Regions from separate parts of the Homo sapiens genome. Here all the other regions are linked to region 1. Evidence: promoter capture Hi-C in 16 types of primary human blood cells and fetal thymus (Javierre and others, 2016). All regions are on one chromosome and are shown on one strand. The core of a region is centred on a gene start or on the middle of the fragment in contact, and the rest is flanking DNA. Distances in the headings are between cores, read along the strand shown. Region 1 holds the start of POGLUT1 (protein O-glucosyltransferase 1). Region 2 overlaps GTF2E1 (general transcription factor IIE subunit 1). Region 3 overlaps RABL3 (RAB, member of RAS oncogene family like 3). Region 4 overlaps RABL3 (RAB, member of RAS oncogene family like 3). Region 5 has its middle 8.1 kb from the start of NDUFB4. Region 6 has its middle 40 kb from the start of NDUFB4.

Evidence for each region. The method cuts DNA at HindIII sites, captures the fragments that hold promoters and counts their contacts. A CHiCAGO score of 5 or more calls a contact.
Region 2: a contact is called between a fragment that was not itself captured here and the fragment with the promoter of POGLUT1 in region 1, in 1 of 17 cell types (neutrophils). The highest score is 7.2, in neutrophils.
Region 3: a fragment that was not itself captured here is called in contact with the fragment with the promoter of POGLUT1 in region 1 in 6 of 17 cell types (fetal thymus, total B cells, activated CD4 T cells and 3 more); the score reaches 8.9 in fetal thymus.
Region 4: a contact is called between a fragment that was not itself captured here and the fragment with the promoter of POGLUT1 in region 1, in 2 of 17 cell types (total CD4 T cells and non-activated CD4 T cells). The highest score is 5.1, in total CD4 T cells.
Region 5: a contact is called between a fragment that was not itself captured here and the fragment with the promoter of POGLUT1 in region 1, in 1 of 17 cell types (neutrophils). The highest score is 11.3, in neutrophils.
Region 6: a contact is called between a fragment that was not itself captured here and the fragment with the promoter of POGLUT1 in region 1, in 1 of 17 cell types (monocytes). The highest score is 5.0, in monocytes.

What each region holds. Positions count from the first base shown.
Region 1 is chr3:119,467,279-119,470,682 of GRCh38, reverse strand. POGLUT1 (protein O-glucosyltransferase 1) reads right to left here and starts at 1,720. Exons shown (of 11, transcript NM_152305.3): 1 at 1,577-1,720; 2 at 773-863. The coding sequence starts at 1,661. RefSeq lists a silencer at 1,444-1,643 and enhancers at 1,694-1,863, 1,556-2,056. The HindIII fragment of the contact is 3,798 bases long and covers 1,096-3,404 here.
Region 2 is chr3:120,753,692-120,757,095 of GRCh38, reverse strand. All of the region lies in intron 2 of GTF2E1 (general transcription factor IIE subunit 1), which reads right to left. Among named protein-coding and RNA genes, the nearest start is that of GTF2E1, 13 kb to the right of the region's middle. The HindIII fragment of the contact is 3,094 bases long and covers 1-3,031 here.
Region 3 is chr3:120,737,743-120,741,146 of GRCh38, reverse strand. The region is part of intron 1 of RABL3 (RAB, member of RAS oncogene family like 3); the gene reads left to right. Among named protein-coding and RNA genes, the nearest start is that of RABL3, 3.1 kb to the left of the region's middle. The HindIII fragment of the contact is 2,693 bases long and covers 263-2,955 here.
Region 4 is chr3:120,709,831-120,713,234 of GRCh38, reverse strand. RABL3 (RAB, member of RAS oncogene family like 3) reads left to right here. Exons shown (of 8, transcript NM_173825.5): 3 at 3,326-3,404. Among named protein-coding and RNA genes, the nearest start is that of HGD, 29 kb to the right of the region's middle. The HindIII fragment of the contact is 3,405 bases long and covers 1-3,201 here.
Region 5 is chr3:120,602,751-120,606,154 of GRCh38, reverse strand. No RefSeq gene overlaps it. Among named protein-coding and RNA genes, the nearest start is that of NDUFB4, 8.1 kb to the right of the region's middle. The HindIII fragment of the contact is 1,783 bases long and covers 723-2,505 here.
Region 6 is chr3:120,554,997-120,558,400 of GRCh38, reverse strand. No RefSeq gene overlaps it. Among named protein-coding and RNA genes, the nearest start is that of NDUFB4, 40 kb to the left of the region's middle. The HindIII fragment of the contact is 764 bases long and covers 1,232-1,995 here.

The DNA of each region.
Region 1 (3,404 bases), core at 471-2,970:
ACAGGGGTAACCAGTGGGAGTACCGGCACCAACACCCAAGTCTGTTTTCAGAGTTATCTTTCTACCATACCTCATCCCGGCCCTGATGTGCATTCTCTCTCTTTTTTGAGACGGAGTCTCACTCTGTCACCCAGGCTGGGGTGCAGTGGCATGATCTGGATTCAATGCAACCTCTGCTTCCCGGGTTCAAGCGATTCTCCTGCCTCAGCCTCCCGAGTAGCTGGGATTACAGGCACGTGCCATCATGCCCAGCTAATTTTTGTATTTTTAGTAGAGACAGGGTTTCACCATGTTGGCCAGGCTGGTCTCGAAATTCTGACCTCAGGTGATCCACCTGCCTTGGCCTCTCAAAGTGCTGGGATTACAGGCATGAACCACCATGCCCAGCCTGATGTGCATTTTCTAAAGATAACCATCAGGAAATTTAGGACTAGATTCAGCGATAGATGGGTTTATTTCCTCAACAATATTTATCGAGCACGCACTGACAGCTAGCACCAGGGAGACAACAGCAAATAAGACACAGACCCTGACCTCAGGAAGCTTGCAGCCCAGTGGGAAAAACAGATGCACATGCACTGAATCCCGCAGTGAGTCAGTGGTTAGGTTGACACCACCTGAGCCTTTCCCATGCGAGAGCATTTTTATTCCCCAGAAATAGAAAAACATCCTTGCCTTTCTGACCACTGCAACCAAAATCTCTCAAGGATGTTAGAATACTTCCTGTGACAGCAACTAAACTCTCAAAGACACATCAAAGAAAAGAACTCACCCATGGTAGCAGCTGCAGTTTTGACTTGAACATGGTTCGTAATTCTCCAAAGACCTGTTAATTTGGTCAATAAATACTTTCCATTTTGAACCTTTAAAAAGTGAAGTAAATGAGAGTTAAAAAAATTTTCCTGAATGTTATTTGCTGACACCACACCAACAGAAGAAACAGAAGACCAAAACTTTCAGAAATCCCCTTCCCATCCCACTGATGGAAACGAAACGCTAGGGAGGAATTTTTGTGTGTGCAACTCCCACGCTCACGTCAAGTCTGTTCCTCTATCCGGCTGTCAGGTGTCCAAGAAACTGGAAAATTCCCAAGCTTAATGCTCAACCCTCAGAATGCTATGGATAGTGACGCGGACTCTCACTTTCTACTAATCAAATTGAACTCCACAAAGAGGATCAGTTAAAAGCTACAGACATTAAACCCCTCTTCTCTTCTGGCAACGCATATACACACACGCTCGCGCGCACGACATTTGCCCCCATCCCCGACCCCTCAGTGTTTCAGGCAGGTCCAGAGTAGCCAAGCACGGGCCACGCCTCCTGCGGGTGAACGGGGAATTCCCTCTCCTCCCTGTCATTCTGAATTCCGGGGAATGGGTTACTCTCCAGGGTCCAGAGCAGGAGCAGAGACCCCGGCACCTCACTCTCCGCCGCAAGGCGCCCCGGTGCCTTCTGCCCAGCTCCGAGCTACAGCGGCCACGGCATCTTCCCGGGAGCCGGCCGCGCGGGGGAGCGCCTCGGGACTCCGGCCAGACCCCGAGCCCAAGGGGCAGGCTCGGCACTGCCCGGAGCCCACCTGACTCCTTCTGGCGGCCCTGCGCTGAGGGCAGGAGGAACAACAGCAGCCAGAGCCGAAGCGGCGAGCTAGCCCACCACTCCATCGCCGGCAGACCTACTGCAGATTCCCCGCTGCGGCGCTGGCGGAAGCGCGGCCCCGCACAAAGATGGCCCGGGAGCCGCAGCACGTGGGCGGCGGGTCGCCCCGCACAAAGATGGCCACCGTGGCCCCACCACCCTTCCTCCAGTCCCCAGCCTTGAGGCGGAGTTTCCCTGAGAAGGCTGCGCCGGGAAGGTGGGGAGGATAAACGAATGGACCAGTTGCCTATCCTCCCTCCCTGGCACCCCTGGGAAAATAGGTCTGCAGCCAGAAAACTGAAGGTCAGAGAGGGTATGTTTCACGGTTAGTGGCACAACCAAGACTTGGCATAGAGCCTAGGCCAAACAGTTCTTCTCTTGACGTCAAATTGCCTCTTATCAAATAGCATAAATTTGTTGAGCATGTGTGTGTGTGTGTGTGTGTGTGTGTGTGTGTGTGTACAGCACGGTTAGACCCCAAAGGTTGCAATTAGCATAGCAGGGATCCCTTTGTAATAGGAATTTATAACAGTTGGGGTGACTTAGACGTAGGAAAAAAGATCAATGGTGTTAAATAAAGTTTATGGGAGGTCGTTGTTTTGGACAGAACTCTGGCACTAGGCCTCAAGAGAGCAGACAAAACCAGAATGGAGGCAACTTGTCCTAGGTGCTGCGTAATTAAACTCAGCTTTAAAAGGGGTCAGTTTTCCAACAAATAGGAGAAGGGGCCCATATACCTGAGCTGGCATGATAAAGAAGTCCCCTCTGATGTAACTCTTTGAGGAAAGTAACTTCAAAATGACCAATCTGCTTTTTGTTCCTTATTTCTGCTTTCTTCAGCCCTTTTCTGCCTATAAGCCCAACCCCTTCTGCTCAGCTCATTAGAACACTTTTCTGTTTTATAGATGAGATGCTGCCTGATTCATGAATCACTAATAAAAGCCAATTCGATTTTTTTTTTTTTTTGAGACAGAGGACAGTCTAACTCTGTTGCCCAGCCTGGAGTGCAGTGGCACAATCTTGGCTCACTATGACGTCTGCCTCCCGGGTTCAAGCAATTCTTCTGTCTCAGTCTCCCGAGTAGCTGGGATTACAGGAGTGTGTCACCATGCCCGGGTAATTTTTGTATTTTTAGTAAAGACAGGGTTTCACCGTGTTGGCCAGGTTGGTCTCAAACTCCTGACCTCAGGTGATCTGCCCACCTCGGCCTCCCAAAGTGCTGGGATTACAGGCGTGAGCCACCATGCCTGGCCAAGAACTTTAAACTAAATTTGATGAAATTTTGTTTCTTGACAGTGGGCAACATGATACTGGACAATATAGGTATATAGTATAGTACAGGTATATATCTTTATACAGGTATATATAGGTCAGTGTAGATATATTTAGTAATCATAGAACTACAAATATTTATCTATTTTCTTTTTTTTTTTTTTTTTTGAGATGGAGTTTCGCTCTTGTTGCCCAGGCTGGAGTGCAATGGTTCAATATCGGCTCACCACAACCTCCGCCTCCTGGGTTCAAGCAATTCTCCTGCCTCAGCCTCCTGAGTAGGTGGATTACAGGCTTGCGCCACCACACCCGGCTAATTTTGTATTTTTAGTAGAGATGGGGTTTCTCCATATTTGTCAGGCTGGTCTCGAACTCCCGACCTCCGGTGATCCACCAGCCTCGACCTCCCAAAGTGCTGGGATTGCAGGCGTGAGCCACTGCGCCCAGCAATATTTATCTATTTTCTAAAATGTACATGGTTATATCCCTAAGCCTTG
Region 2 (3,404 bases), core at 235-2,734, 1.3 Mb before region 1:
CTCAACTATCTGAAAGACAATAAAGAATAGAATATTGTATCAAAATCCAAAGCATCAAAACTAAAAAGCAACTCTTCACAAATAAGCAAATAAATTAGCTTTTATGTCACTGGCATCAAAATACAAAAAAGATAAAAGATTGTTTTTTTTTGTTTGTTTGTTTGTTTTCTGAGATGAAGTTTCACTCTGTCGCCCAGACTGGAGTGCAGTGGTGCGATCTCGGCTCACTGCAACCTCTGGCTCCTGGGTTCAAAGGATTCTCCTGCCTCAGCCTCCCGAGTAGCTGAGATTACAGGCGCACTCCACCACGCCCAGCTAATTTTTGTATTTTTAGTAGAGATGGGGTTTTGCTATGTTGGCCAGGCTGGTCTTGAACTACTGACCTCAAACGATCCACCCACCTTGGCCTCTCAAGGTGCTGGGATTACAGGCATGAGCCACTGTGCCCAGCCAAAATGTTTTTTTAAAAAAGTTCTCAAATCCTCAAAATCAAAAGCAGCAGAATTTTAAAAAATCAGACCTAAAGGTTTTGTGGTGGAAGGGTAGAAGAGGGACGATACTTGTTCCTATCTTTCCATAACTCATTTTTATATATATTTTAACTTTTTCTAATAAATTTCCCCCCCTTACTCCCCCCACTCCCCAATCCATACCTTTGAGTTCTGTGGCATAATTGTCTAACCCATGCTGGATAAGATTCCAAAGACTGAGGACTCAGCAACTGAGCAAAACAATCTTGGAAAGATTTCTTTTTGTGTTTGTGTTTTTAGCACTTCAGGAATTGAAAACACTGCTTATAAGATACCTCCTGTCCTGGCAATAACAAATGCTGGCAAGAACGTGGAGGAAAGGGAACTGTCGTACACTGTTGGTGGGAATGTAAATTAGTACAATCACCATGGAGAACAGTTTGGAGGTTCCTCAAAAAACTAAAAATAAAGCTACCATATGATCCAGCAATCTCACTGCTGAGTATATACCCAAAAGAAAGGAAATCAGTATATCAGATGTATCTGCATTCCCATGTTTGTGGCAGCACTGTTCACAATAGCTAAGATTTGGAAGCAACCTAAGTGTTCATCAACAGATGACTAGATAAAGAAACTGTGGTGCACATACACAATGGAGTACTATTCAGCCATAAAAAAGAATGAGATTCAGTCATTTGCAACATAGACGGAACTGGAAATCATTATGTTAAGTGAAATAAGCCAGGCACAGAAGGATAAACATTGTACCTTCTCACTAATCTGTGGGATCTAAAACTCAAAATGATTGAATTCGGGGACACAGAGAATGAAAGGATGGTTAGCAGAGGGTAGAAATGGTAGTAGGGATGGGGGATGGCTAACTGGTAAAAAAAATAGTTAGAAAGAATGAATAAGACCTACTATTTGATAGCACAACAGGGTAACTATAGTCAATAATTATACATTTAAAAATAACTAAAATAGTATAATTGGATTGTTTGTAACACAAAGGATAAATGCATGAGGGGATGGATACCCCATTCTCCATGACGTGATTATTACACATTGCATGCCTGTATCAAAACATCTCATGTACCCCATAAACATATACACCTATTTAGCCACAAAAAATTTCTTTTAATTAAAAAAATTTTTAAAGATATCTCCTATTCTAAGTAGAAAGAGAAGACAGGAAAAAGCAGCCTGCCCTATGAAGGCAAACTCTTTAATCAAGTCTCACAAATAGAGAATCTTAAAAATTTTTAAATGTTAGGGTAAGGGAACAGAAAAGGAATCTCAATGAATGGGGCCATCAGGAAATGGATCTGTCCAAACCAAAAAGTTTTATCTGTAGTCACAAGCCAAGAAGGGACTCATATGATTTAACTCCAAACTTACATATGAATATCTCAAGTAGATACCAAGTTTACTTGACTATTCCAAACTCAGAACTCATCACTAGAAGAGATCTATTCCATTGTTGGCTATTTTTACGAGTTATTTATTAGACACTTACTTAATTATCAAAGACTTCTTTATGCTAATACTAAAATCTGTTGCTAAGTCTTTCCATGGAGCCAAACAAAACAAGGTAAATCTCCATGAGAAGTGTCATATTCTCCCTTAATAGTAAATCTAAAACAGCCTAGCAATGTATATACCCCTAGATTTATTCGTTATTACATTATGCGATCCTCCAAATCCAAGAGTACAACATAGGCATGTCCATGTGCACCCACATACACATTATTTGTTGAGTTGAACTAGATAATCTCTGAATTTCTATTTCTAAGATTTTATTAAATATACATTTATAAGATTCTTTTTTAAAAAAAAATTAAATTATCTCATCTCAAAATTTAAAATGTGACTCCTAGGTCCCTAGGTGAATGCAGTAAAAGGGGCTCCCGAATTATTTCCAATTCAAACATCTAACAATTCTACTCCACCCACTCACAGTAAAACTACAATGCCATATATGTTTTTAGAGAAGCTCTAAAACTGTATTTTTTTGCCCAATATTCCCACTGCCAAGAATTCATAAGAAAAAATGTGAACAGGAATAATGTGCTATATATACAAAGGTATTCAAAGCATCTTATCTATACCAGCAAAAAATAGATACCCCCAAAGTGCCCAAAAGGAGGGGAAAGGAAAATGGGAAAAAATTACACCTATTAAAATGTATTTTGAACACTAGATAGAAACAGGAGAGTTTGGTACATTAAGAAACCAAGAGATCATAAACTATTCTAAGCTATGATTGTAATTGTAGGTAATACGTAAAAGGCTGGTGGCTTTGTGGGTGATTTTTTTCTCTTCAAATTTGTCTCTGGCATTATGGTTGCATAATTTTTAAACTAAAAATGGAAAATATAAAGCTATTTCCAAATCATCTAACCTTAACATCTAAAAAGAGCTAAGATCCCCCTCTGCCCTTCAGGAGAAGCATGCTGTTGAACTTAACTTAGAAGTGTTAACTTAGGGTGATTAACTAAATCACCCATGGTTGAGACTGCTAAAATAGAAATACTTAAGTCTATTTAAATGGTCAGAAAGCTTGCTAAATCTAAAACATGCATTTATGAAACACAAGATGTTATTTTGCTGATTCACTGAGAGATTTCATGTCATGTTTTTGTTTTGATTACATAATCCTCCCATATTTTAGAAACTTAAAACCTGGTTTCACCTTAATGATTAAGCTTCTGATTGACTAGTGTGCAAAGGCTAGGCTATTCCATTTTAACAAATAATGTATCTATACATTTGAAGAGAGTTCAACCCAGAAACATCAAAAGCAAATCTAAATGGAAAGTATGGAGAAAATTTACAATCTTTAGGAAAAGTAGAGATGGAGTAGGAAATAGTAGTAAACTGAAGTAGGAAGACCGGTGGCTTATGTGTGAATTAACAATGGTAAACAATCCTTGC
Region 3 (3,404 bases), core at 360-2,859, 1.3 Mb before region 1:
TGAGTAGAATTTACAATCCAGAACTAACAGACTTCTTCATGATACGTTAAGTGGGTGTTTTGTGTCCTTTATAATTCCATTTTCTATTGTATCTAACAATCCCTTCATATTACAAACTGTTGCAACTAGTCAATTTATTTTCTTTCCAACAGGCACTGTATTAGGTTCTGGGGTTATAACTGTGGAATTAATGCGTCATATAACAGGGATAGAATTAGCAGCTACATTAAATGTGGAAAAGTAATCAGGCAATTGATAAGCTTCCCTACTGCCCGCCTCCCCTGTTATGGTTTAGTTGTAAAGCAGAAGACACAGCTGTGATGGCCAGGAAAGTGATTGATGTTGTCACACATTCACTAATGTTAACCTTTATGTGCAAAGTTAGTTATTGTCTTTTTATCTTTTTAAAAGGTAATTTTGTCAGTCTCCTTTTAACTGCGATTTAAAAGTACACAGTCTGACAGTTTAGAATGCACTTTTTACACTTCCTCAGCCTTTCTTTCAAACCCGAAAGTTTATTTTTAAATAAAGGCCATTTCCCTTATAAAATTTTGAGGGTTTCACAAATATATAAAGAAATGACTTAGCCAGACAAGGTGGCTCTAGCCTATAATCCCAGCACTTTGGGAGGTTGAGGCGGGTGGATTGCTTGAGCTCAGTTCAAGACTAGCCTGGGCAACATGGCAAGACCCTCTCTCTACCAAAAACAGTACAGAAAGTTAGCCGGGCATGGTGGTGCACGCCTGTAGTCCCGCTACTCAGGAGGCTGAGGTGAGAAGATCACTTGAGCCCAGGAATTTGAGGCTGCAGTGAGCTAGGATCGTGCCACTGCACTCTAGCCTGGGTGATAGAGTGAGACCCTGTCTCCAAGAAAAAAAAATAAAAAGAATAAGTTGATATTTGGTGATTTGTTTTTATCCTATTGAGATATTTGGTAATTTGGTAAGGAACCCTGAAAGTCTCACTACCATACGGTTTTCTCTTTCTTTCAGAGATTAGGGACTAGTTTAACATATTACCAAACAGCTGTATTTGGAGCTGACATTTATTTATATTGGGCCTTTTTTACCCCCAAGCAAATCAAGTGCATTCTTTTGATCAAATTTAGTTCTAAAGGTGAAAACATAGAATCAGAATCTCCCAAAATTCTTAAAGAAATGAAATTCGCCATTATTCCCTAGCACTTCAACTGTTCTTACTGTTTAGGGTTTCATCCCTTCTTAGCTAATACTTATCACCCAAAGCAGTTAATTCATGGAGAGCTATACAATTCTACTGCCTGGAAATGTTTACCCTAACACAATTAAGCTAAACTAGGCCTCAAGTGTTGCATCAAGCTGATAATTAAGTGGATAGATACATTCCTTGAACATAAACAAACCTATTTACAAATACAGAATCAACAATACATCCTAAAAGTTACAGATATTAGACACAATGCAGTAAATTCAATGACAAATATAATTTTGAGTATTTAAAAATCTTAAATGTTTCTATATAAAAAAAGTAATAAAAGGGAAGCCTGAGAAAATGTTTGATTCAATTACACATACGTAAAATGATTAATATATTTAATAGATAAAGAGCTCATATAAATTAATGACACTAAAACCTGGTAGATAAAGGTACAGAGTAGATCAACAGAGAATTTATGAGAGGAAAAACAACTGATTTGCCAGAATAATCATAATGATAATCTTTGATCTTTATCAGAAAGTAAAGAAATGCAGACTAAAGCAAGCTGTCACTCCCCCACTGCCCGCCACCACCGAGACGGATTGTTGCTCTGTCACCCAGGCTGGAGTGCAGTGGCGCAATCTCGGCTCACTGCAGCCTCTGCCTCCTGGGTTCAAGTGATTCTCTTGCCTCAGCCTCCCAAGTAGCTGGGATTACAGGCACCCACCACCACGCCCAGCTAATTTTTGTATTTTTAGTAGAGACAGGGTTTCACCATTTTGGCCAGGCTGGTCTCGAACTCCTGACCTCGTGATCTGCCTGCCTCAGCCTCCCAAAGTGCTGGGATTACAGGTGTGAGCCAACGCACCTGGCCAAGATGTCACTTTTATTCCTTTATCAGGTTAACAAGGATGAAAAGCCAACTACATGATACTGTTGAGGTGCAACAAGACCTGCAGGCTCAAGTGTATGGCTGGTGGCAGTATAACCCCATGAAAGTTATTTCTCAATGCATATCAAGAACTTTAAATGTTTCCTTTTAAGTACTGAGTTTACTCCTGGGAAGGTATACTAAGGACATAATTTTAATTTTAAACAAAGGTTTAAACAGAAATAACCTTTCACTAGCATATCAAAAATTTCAAAACACCCTAAATATCTAATAATAATGGAAGAATGATTAAGTAAATTTTTATGCCTACTTTCTGAAGTACTATGGAGATACTTTAAATGTTTATGAAGATTTTGGAATAATATGGAAACTTTTAATAAATACTAATTAAGGTTCTGATCTAAATACTAGAGATAAAAAAGCTGCGTAAGAACCCTCAAGGAACTTAAAATTAAGGGAGTGGTTCCAAGATGACCAATTAGGAACAGCTCCAGTCTACAGCTCCCAGCGTGAGCGACGCAGAAGACAGGTGATTTCTGCATTTCCAACGAGGTACCAAGTTCATTTCACTGGGGCTTGTCAGACCGTGGGGGCAGGACAGTGGGTGCAGCCCACTGTGTGTGAGCCAAAGAAGCGCAAGGAGTCAGGGAATTCCCTTTCCTAGCCAAGGGAAGCGGTGACAGACAGCACCTGGAAAATTGGGTCCCTCCCACCCTAATACTGTGCTTTTCCAATGGTCTTAGCAAACAGCACACCAGGAGATTATATCTCTGACCTGGCTCAGAGGGTGCCACACCCACGGAGCCTTGCTCATTGCTAGCACAGCAGTCTGAGATCTGCAAGGTGGCAGTGAGGCTGGGGGAGGGGCGCCCGCCATTGATGAAGCTTGAGTAAGTAAACAAAGAGGCCAGGAAGCTCGAACTGGGTGGAGCCCACCGCAGCTCAAGGAGGCCTGTGTGCCTCTGTAGACTCCACCTCGGAGGGCAGGGCATAGCCTGAAACCTCTGCAGACTTAAATGTCCCTGTCGGACAGCTTTGAAGTGAGTAGTGGTTCTCCCAGCACAGAGTTTGAGAACAGACAGATTGCCCCCTCAAGTGGGTCCCTGACCCCCGAGTAGCCTAACTGGGAGGCACCCTCCAGTAGGGGCAGACTGACACCTCACATGGCCCAGTACCCCGCTGAGAAAAAGCTTCCAGAGGAATGAATGATCAGGCAGCAACATTTGCTGTTCAGCAATATTCGCTGTTCTGCCACCTCTGCTGCTGATGCCCAGGCAAACAGGGTCTGGAGCGGACCTCCATCAAAATCCAACAGACCTGCAGCTGAGGGTCCTGA
Region 4 (3,404 bases), core at 250-2,749, 1.2 Mb before region 1:
AGAGAAGAGTTTAGATGAGTGAGTCAGTCTGGCTTGGGAGTATGCATAGCCTGAAAGGTGCTGGCTAACAGGTTTGGTACAATGCAAGGCTAAGAGGGTATGCTGCCTAGAAATTTACATTGGATGATGGCTATTCTCAGAGGAGTTATAGTCCTTTAGAGGAGGCAACATTAGGTACTTGAAATAATTTAGAGAAAAAAAATGGTGTACTGCAGTGGTTGCCAAACTTAATCATGTATCAGAATCACCTAGGGAACTTTAAAAAAAAAAAATACAGACTCTTGAGCCCCATCCCAGAAGTTTCAAGGACAGTCCAGGAATCTGTATTTTTTAACAAACTTCCTATTGGCTTTGATTTAGTTTGCTCTTGGAACTGTACTGGAGAAACACTGGAATTCGGTAAATAATAAACTGAACATAATAAAAACCTGGAGGATGAGTTATCCTAAATTTATTCATGTATTTAATAAACATGTCTAAGCATCTAATATATGCTAGATATTATGCTATTTTCTAGGGCTAAAGGATGAATAATACATGGTCCGTGCCCTTACACTCAGAGTCTAGAAGAAGAGATATCAGTAGATAAATAAGACAGTGTGCTTAGTGAAATGATAGAGGTGTGTAGGATGCTATGGAAGCAAATAGGAGGAGTACCAAACCTGCTCTGGTTGATTTGGGCCCAGAAGGAAGGTAGGATCAGAAAGACTTAACTGAAGTCGCTGAGCTTTTTCATAACAGATAACTTACTCTTTATAAGACCTCATACTGCTTTTTCTCATTGTTTTGCTTAGAAATCTTGCTAAAACATATGTTTTTTCTGCTTGGTTTAACTTTTTTACTGCTAACTTGACATGATCACATATTATAAGTTATTTTTGCCATATAACAAAATAGTGATGCCTTCTATTGTAATATGCAGAATTAATTTCCATTATCCCAAATGGTCCTCAACTGCTGCAACTGTGCTATTCTCATTTTTCTGTCATACTGTCTTTGATGTCAGTCTGATAATTGTCTTCTTAATGTCAATGTGGCTGTTTATAGAGTAGCATATTTATTTAAATTTTTCCTTGGCCAAAAGGATTTGGACAAAAAAATTGTGAATAAGTAAAAGTGTAAAGCATTAAGTTGAATGTAGTATGTGAGTTTTAGTGCATTTTATGACATCTATTTTAACTACTGAGCTATCTTGTTTTTTTAATTATTATGTCAAAGCCAGTAGATACTTTAGAAATCACATAATACAATTCTTTCATTTTATAGGCAAAGAAACTGAGGCTCCAAGATACCAGGGACGATCAGTGGCAATCAAGGAGTAGAATCTAGGCCTCCTGATACTGTAATAGTCCCATTCTATGAAAGCAGCAGTTCTTAACGAGGGGATTACAGCAGAATCGTTTGGAGAATTGTTCAAAATACACATGCCTAGTATTTAATCCCAAAGGTCCTGATTCAGTAAGATTGGCATGTATATTTCTTAAAAAAAATTAATTCTTGGAAAATGCCGATGTGTACTCATGAACCAGCATACTTTAATCTGCTTGCCATATATCATAATTTGTTTCTGAATAGTTATACAGTACAGGCAGTAAATGCCTATAGAGCCTAGACATGAGAAAAAGAGAGTCTTTGGAGATAACTGTGAGTGAGAAAGTCATTGGAGGGTTTTGAGCAAAAGAGCGTATGATATAACTTGCATTTTTAAAGGATCACTCTAGCTACTGTATAGAAAACAAACAGGGAGGTTGGGGGATGCCTCTAGTAGGGAGATCAGTCAGAGACCATTATATCAATTCAGGCAAGGAGATAGAGACTTTGACCTGGGTGGTAATAGTGGAGATAGGGAGAAATGAACAGATTTTTGACATATTTTTTTAAAGTCAAAGAAGCAGAACTTGTTGGCAAATGCAATAATGCAATATGAAAGGAGTCAAGGATCAGTCTTAAGTTTTTGGCCCAAGTAACTGGAAGAATAAAATTGCCTTTTAGATGAAATTGCCACAAGAATGAGTATTGATAGAAAAGAAAAGAGACTGAAGAACTAAACCTTGAGACACATTAGCAATTAGAAATCAGAGAGATAAGAAGGACCCAAATGGAAGCTGAAAAGCACTAGCCAATGAGATAGGAAGAAAACTAGAAGAGTGTGATATCCCAGAAGCCAGGTGAAAAATGTTGCAAGACACGAGGTGGATCAAATGGTGGAGTAAAATGAAAACTGTTAATTGACCATTGGAGTTAACAATGTGGAGGTCATTGGTGACCTTGACAAGGAATAGTTCATTGGGGTCATTAGGGCATAAGTTCGATAGAAATGAGTTCAAAAGAGAATGTGAAGAAAAGGATTACCGCTAAGAATAGACAACTCTTTGGAGGACTTTTGCTGTGAAAAGGAAAAGGAAAGTGGCATGGTAGCTGGAAGAGGACTTGAGGTCAAGAGAAGGATTTTTTTTAGATGAGGAAAATTATGCCATGTTTGTATGCTGAGAATTGAATTGTGTGGTGAGGATTATCCAGCTGAGAAGGAAAATTTGATGGTATAAGGGAGAGACGGGAGAACTGGTAGAATTACATCTTTAAGCAAGAAAGTGGGGATGGGATCTCATGCACAGAAGGAGGATTTAGCCTTAGGGACATAGGCAGCCTAAGAAAACAGCAAGAAGGAAAGCAGATTATGTGGGCACAGATGGAGAAAGGCAGATAAATACAGGAAGAACAGGTTGTAGAAGCTCCTTTCTAATTGCTTCTGCACTAGGAAGCAAAGTTAGTTTTAACTGAGGATGGGGAAGAGATATTAGAAGTTTATAAAGAGGAAAAAGTATGAAATAGTTATCTGGAAGAGGAAAATGGTAAATTAACTGTGGAATTGATTGAAGGACAGCTCCAAAGGTACACTTAAATTTAGAAAGAATCCATTCATCTTGAATGCGTATTTTTCCGAGCTCCACATTCGGTTGCTGGGTTGTAGACATGAAAGAGGGTAAAAGGTGGATATAACCAAGAGTGGAATTTTGTCAGATGAATACAATGTGAGAGAGGGGCAAAGGAGTGACTGTATGATGGATCATGAAATTTATGCTTAGTTAGGAGGGAGGTGAGGCTTCGGAAGTGGAACAGAGAGCTGTGAAAGATGTTAAGATTAATTAACTATAAGGTCCTCTGGAGTAAAAATTATTAAAGTATTAAAGAGAGTAAGCTTAAAAGATAAGAGGTAGCGATCAGAAAGTCAGAGTAAGATGCTGAAATGCTTTAAACCGGAATAAGGGTACTTACTAGTTTGTTTAGTGGCTATATTAATTATTTTAATTGATTGATTTGTTAGGTTCATGATTACAAAGAAGGAACCCCAGAAGAGAAGACCTACTACATAGAATTATGGGATGTTGGAGGCTCTGTGGGCA
Region 5 (3,404 bases), core at 365-2,864, 1.1 Mb before region 1:
TTATCAACAGAAAAGACATTCCAAGACCCCCAGTGGATGCCTGAAACCATACAGATAGTACCAAACCCTATATATACTGTTTTTTCCTATAAATACATACCGATAATAAAATTTAATTTAGAAATCAGCCTCCAAAAGAGAATAAAACAATAACTAATAGTAACATAGAACTATCATTATATACTGCAATAATAATAGTAAACACTGTTATGTTATGGGAATGTGGTCTCTCTCTCTCAGAACATCTTATTGTACTGTCTCACCTATTTTAGAACTGTGGTTGACTTCAGATAACTGAATAAGTGGGGACTACGGGGTAAACTAAAGTCATCTAGAAAAAAAGACGGAAGGTCACAGTAGGATTCCTTCTGTTTTTGCCCTCTAGCAAAATGAGAATCAAGTAATACAATTCTTTAAGATCTGGAGAACAATATAACAATAATGGCCATTAGGATGGGTGGAAGAAGCAGGGTCTTACCGTTATTGTAATGATATGGGCAGGGGCAAATTAGCAAACAGGAACCACATGGAAATCATATGATTTGGTCAAGTCTCATGGGCACAGGATGGTAGCTGTAGATCCAAAATAGTTTTAAGATCCATTTTGCAGGAATTCATGGATCTTTACTCCACCATTACACACAGCTACTCCCACGTGTCTACCACCTTGGCCCCTTTGAATTGCTGTTTCTCACACCTTCTAGTATTTCTGCCTTAAAGCTTCTGTTTACTCATAGATTAGATTCCTCATTACCTTAATGCACTAGTATAAGATCCAGAAAGTGGGAGATAATCTCTATAAAGGTTTAGGAGCTTCCCATATCAGTGATGTTTGTGGGTATCCAGTGGTCTTTGGCATGCCAGGATAGCCCCTCCAAAGTAAAGCACAAGTTGAACCACTTCACACCCTCTACTACAAAGAAAAAGGCACAGCACTTTGTGGGCCTCTGGATTCTGGAGACAACACATACCCTACTTGGGAACAGTACTCTGACCCATTTATGCAGTGATTTGTAAAGCTGCCAGTTTTGTTCTTCCAGAGAGAGGGTCACAGTTTGTCACCCAGGCTGAAGTGCAGTGGGTGGCATGATCATAGCTCCCTGCAACTTTGAACTCTTGGGCTCAAGAAATCCTCCCATCTCAGCCTTCCAATTAGTTAGGCACATACCAGGCATGCCTGGCTATAAGCTGCCAGTTTTGAATGGAGCCCAGAAAGGACTCTGCAGCAGATCCAGGCTGCAGTGTAAGCAGCAGCCACTTGGGTCATATAACACAATAAAGCCAATACTCTAGGTGTCTGTGGTAGGTAGCTAAGGATGCTGCTTGGAGTCTCCTACAAGACCTTGGCAACAGAATAGTTGCAGTGCTGACTTCTTAGGTTGTGGAGCAAGGCCATGCCTTCTGCAGCAAAGAAAAATTCACCATTCCAAAAGCAGCTGGGCACCCAGTATGAGATGAGGTGACCATTCAACCAGAACTGCCTATCAAGATCTGGACAGTCAGAAGCACTGTCATGTGATTGGATGTACACAGCAGCTCTAGGGCACAGATGAATTTAGCTAAGCCTACTAAAGGCTTAGCTAAAGTACCAGCTTAAGGACATCTAGCAGGACTGAGGCTCAGGGTTGACCATGTGGTATATGCAATGAACCAATGGTCATAGATACAGTGCTATGCCCCAGCAGCTAGAATTTATGACTCTGAGAACCAAGAAGTAGGATTGGCCCCTTTTGCCATCCCAGTAACTCATGGTGGAATGTGCACTTCCCCTCCCTCCAAATTTAGGTTCTGCTGGAAGAAGTCCTGATTCCCATGCTGGGGCATAAGAACACTTTCACCAGGGAAACAAAATAATCTGGTACTTCTTGTATTTGGGAAACAGTAGACCGAAAAAGAAATTTCCATACTGGCAGCAGTAAGTGACCCACGGAGCTAGGGTTGCTGCTACACAATGGGGCAAAAAGGGTAATGTCTGGAGTCCAGGGGATTCACTGGAGCATCTCGGTGCTTCCACTTCCAGCCCAGCTGTAAACATGCAATTGCTACAACAAAGGGCTGATGATGATAGAGTAACTAAGATTCTGGTCCTTAGAAATGAAGGCTTTGGTGACTTCATCTGGCTAGCAATCTAGACCTGCTAAAATGATGGCCAAGGAAGGGAAATCTAGTAAATACGATGAGGGGAGATGAATGAGTTACAGACTCTGGGCCAGTTGCAACAGTATGTACTGTAGCTGGTTCCACTAATTGTCCATACTGAGTGTTCTGTAGATTGTATACAGCCATCACCTTGAAGGACATGTTATAGACTGGACTCAGTGTATGTCCAAATAGATCCAAGCAGCGCATGAAGTGGAGGAAGAAATCCTATATCTCTTTTGCCTGCCTCACAACCTCTTGGTCCACCTTTTTACTCTAACTATTGCTGCCACTGTCAGCTGCCTGCAAGTGTGACCTGACAATACTTTACCTCAGCTGCACATCACTTGCTTTCTGCCCTAAGCTTCCTTTCTCCCGCATGTGTAATGCCTGTAAAAACATCGTCAGCCTTTCCAGAGTATGTCCATACCCTGATGTACACGAGAATTGCATGGGATAACCCTTGACCAATGGAGACAAGACAAACATTTGCTTTTCCCACATCTGGTTGAAAAATTCTACATTCCACAGGGCTTCTCAGAAGGTCCCAGGTGGGAGCCTGTTACTCTCAGAGGCAACAGGTTCATGGCACATGTTTGCTGGCTTTCCCTCCTTCCATGTTTCACTCTTCCCAAACTTCTATTCCTTCAGATCACTTCCTAATATAAACTACCTGCACAGAAGACTTTCCCTCAGTCTCTGCTTTCTGGGGCAACCCATGCTTATGCAAGCTTCAAATCAAAGTAGTCGTGGATATCCTTTGAAAGTTAAGACCAATATACCATCTACACCAGCCTTACAGAGCATGCTGGTTATCTACAGCACTTGACTTTACTCTGCCTTTGTGGTGAAATTATCACCCTACTGTTTCCAGACTTAACTACAAAGCATAATACTGTTATTTCATTGTCATCTTCATGACCTTGTGAGGTAGTAGGCTATCTCCATGCTATAGATGAGCATATGGAGGCCCAGTATTCCAACTGTTTAACTTGAGCTAGGATTCTAGCCCAGATTTGACCTCCAAAGGTCACGCCCCTAACCATTATATTTCTGCTCCTCAGCATGACCTCCATGCTCCATCTCCTCACCCCACAGTAGCCCACAATCCAGCCATACCCAACACACCTTGCCCCTTCATGCTCCTGTTTTGTCCTGTCAGCCTTGTGAACTTCAGAGCCTAGATCAAATGCCACCTCCCTAAATTCCTCAGGTAGAACTGCTTCTCATCAGCTTGCCTACATCATTTTCCTGAATCTCGATTG
Region 6 (3,404 bases), core at 364-2,863, 1.1 Mb before region 1:
GGTCTTTTAGAGAAGATACCAACTCCAGAATGACCGTACCTCTGTTTACATGTTTTTGTTTCGTTTTGATTTTTGTTTTCTAATTGAGACCACCCCCCTCGTTTCCAGAACATACTGGAACTCTTAGGATTTGGGGTTGAGGGACTTCAGGTGAGAACTACAGAGACAGCCTCACGCTCTGCCTGGAACCTCTTGTCCTCCAAGATTCAGGTGCTCTGGTTGAGTCTGGTCCACTCTGCCACAGTATCTTTACTCACAGTGATTTTCTCTTGGGGACTTCATCACTGTCTTCCTCTCAAACTGACTTTTGCTTATAACACAGTTGGAAGAGAGAGTGAGAGAGACTGTGTGTGTGTGTGTGTGTGTGTGTGTGTGTGTGTACCCTTGGAAAATAGAGTTTAAATTTTATTTCTGGGGAATTGGGAATGTCACCAATCGTGGTGTTAAGGCACTAGAGCATGCCATGACAGTCAAAAGGCACCCCAGCAAATGATAGAAGGTGCTTCACCTGGAGCCCACAGAGGGCTCTGGGGCAGTGCTACTTATCAAGAGCCTATCTCAGTTCCAGCCCTAAATATTGCTACTATGGTGGTGGTGATGTACCCCCCTAATTTCTGCATTTCATGGTCCCTGTCTCCAAATCTATCTGGCTCTATTGGTTCAGATTCCTATCCCAATTCCTATTATGTTTCAGCTCCTAGTCCTGTGTGTCCCTGAGAGGAAGAGACTGATATCAGATCTGGTAGGACATGATACTCTTCAATCTTGTCACCATAACTTTCTCCTGGAGCCATGGAATGTAGCAGTGGTATGATCCGATCCCGCCTGTCCCTGTCCTGCCCAATACTTGATAGCTGTTCTTTCCTAGTTCCAGAACCTGATTGGACCAAGTTTAAGACCAAGGTAGGGAGTGGGAGGCAGATAGGCAATGCAATGCTATTCAACATTTAAGAATACTTCCCACTTACTTGTCCTTGTCAGGCCCTGGCCATACAGACAGGCTGTACAAGACATAGGCCCTGACCTCAGGGAGTAAATGTTTTTATTGAACTGACCCACTGTGTCTCTGAATGAGAACAAAAATGAAACTGCTGCAGAAAAACCCAGTGCTACAAAGTGCTAGCATCATCAGGAGGCAGGCTGCCTCTGCAGTGCAATCCATAATCTCTGTGACTTCCAGAACCAAAAAAAAAAAAAAAAAAAAAGTTAAATTACTTTCTAAAATTAAGCTTTGCATTACTTTGGAAACTAACAAAGCATTCCTTCCCACAGACACTGTTCCCAAATTAAGTATTTTGTGCTTATACAGCTGCTCAAATGTTGGTGCATTGAAGATGGAAAAATTTCTTAGGTAGGGAAGAGATGGGGTGCCTAGAAAGGAGAGGGGAGCTCTGTCGGGGGGAGAGCAGCTGTGGTCACTAGCAGAGATTATAGAATAGTTGGAAAAGATTATCAAGTAAATAAGTGTATAAAATGTTTCTAAAGTTATTAGGTCTAAATAAGTGTAGGTTAAGGGGGCCTGTTATGGTCAAGTATTTAAAAGCATCCTTTCAAGTGAAAACCTTGGTCAGTGGCTATTCCCCACCTGTAATCAATAGGAAATGGAATAAAAGTAAACTACCGAGGGGGCATCTTAAGGTCAATGTGAGGCCTATTGTTCAAGATTTCACAGCGATTAAACCCTAGAATGGGTCACAGAGAATAGGTGGGCACTTTCCTCTAGAGGCATTTATTGAAAGAACAGAACTGTCTTGTTATCACATGCTGCAGGTAACATCCAGTGTAGAGACAGAGGCATGACTTGGATGAGCTAACTTCCCAGGTTCTCTTCTATTAAATAGATTGGAAAGTCAAAGAACTCATACAGCATTAGAGGCCCCCCATAGCAGCTAGAGAGAAATGGACAGGTGAAAGGCCCATGGTCCTCACTTGTCCGCCTCCCACCGACAACATGCCAGGGCCTGCCATTGAGCTGCCTGTTTCATTTTGTAAGCTTGTGCCTAGATGTTTGCCTTGCAAACATGTGAGCTGTCTTGGCAAACGGTTTTGTAGAAAGCCCTCACTCACAAGAATTCCATCTGCAATATTTGGACTGGCTTCTAGGACTCCCTTTTCCGCACAAGCTGTTCCCTCCTTATCTCTGGGTCTCTTCCAGAAGGTCATCAATGTTCTGCTGTACAAGGGTCATCTGCTTGCCACACTATTCCCCAGCTCCTGGAACACAGCACTGTTTTCCATGGTGGCAGCAGCAGGAATATCTTCCTCCTCAGCATGATTTTCCAGGCCCAAGATAAGCTCACAAGCACCAAAAGACACAAGGCCATGGCCTCATGGACCTCACACCCAGTAGCCTGATCTGAGTTTAAAAAGGCAGACCTGCTGTCTTAGCTGGGGGAGTAGAGGAGAGTTAGTGGGAGGGGCTACTATGGGTTTAAGTTGACAGAGAGAGGTGGTGCAGGAGCAGAGAGCAGCCAGGAGCACCTGAGGAAGGCTGCGAAGGTCATCTGGGTGGGGGCGGGTTCCAGGGGAGGAGCACTTTCTGGCAGGGTGAGGTGGGGGCGGTCCTGGAGAATGTACCCATAAGGCCAAGTCCAAGGCCTGGGTGGGGTCTCTGACACTTGTAGACACTTGGCACCAAGCCTCAGTGTAATCTTGCTTCATCTCCCTGGATTTCTACCATCATTAATGACTGTGACTTCAGTCAGGGACTACAGAAAGGGAACACTCAGTGATAATCTAGAGGCAAGGACAATTGACCAAATAATCAGATATGGCTCCAGTTTAAGTCCTTTGCCCCATTATTACCCTGCCCTCTCTTCATTATCCTATATCCCAAGTCCTTACTTTCCCAGATGTGGTGGAGAAGGTAAAGAATTCCAAGTTGTTGTAAGCAGGGTCACTCCCCATAAAATGAGATCATCTCACACCCTAGGGACTGACTCAATTGAGCTCCACTGGCCAGAGTTCTGATTGCATCTCCCCAACCGAAAGAATATTAATTCCAGGCAAAGGAGGTCTCTGTCTCCTGCATAGTAGATACTAATGACTCCACTATGAGAAAAATCCTAGAGTGATAGAGTATGAGAGTCAGCAGGGACTGTAGAGATTACATATTGATCCAACACATTCATGATAGATGAGGGAACTGAAGATTAGGGAGATGACATAAGGTCCAAGGCCACCCAGGAAGTTGTTGAAAAAATCTGGACTAGAACCCAGAAGTCTTTGGCCCAGTAACACACTAGCTCTTCCTCCTATCTTACCTGGCCCTGGCCCTCTCGGATGCCAAAGGTTTCCACCCAGGGGAAAATTAAGCAGCAAGGAAGGAAGGTCTGAATTTGCAAAACTTCTTTGTGGAAGCAACTGCGCTTCAGGAGATCCCTTTGTATCATAGCCAGCCCTGG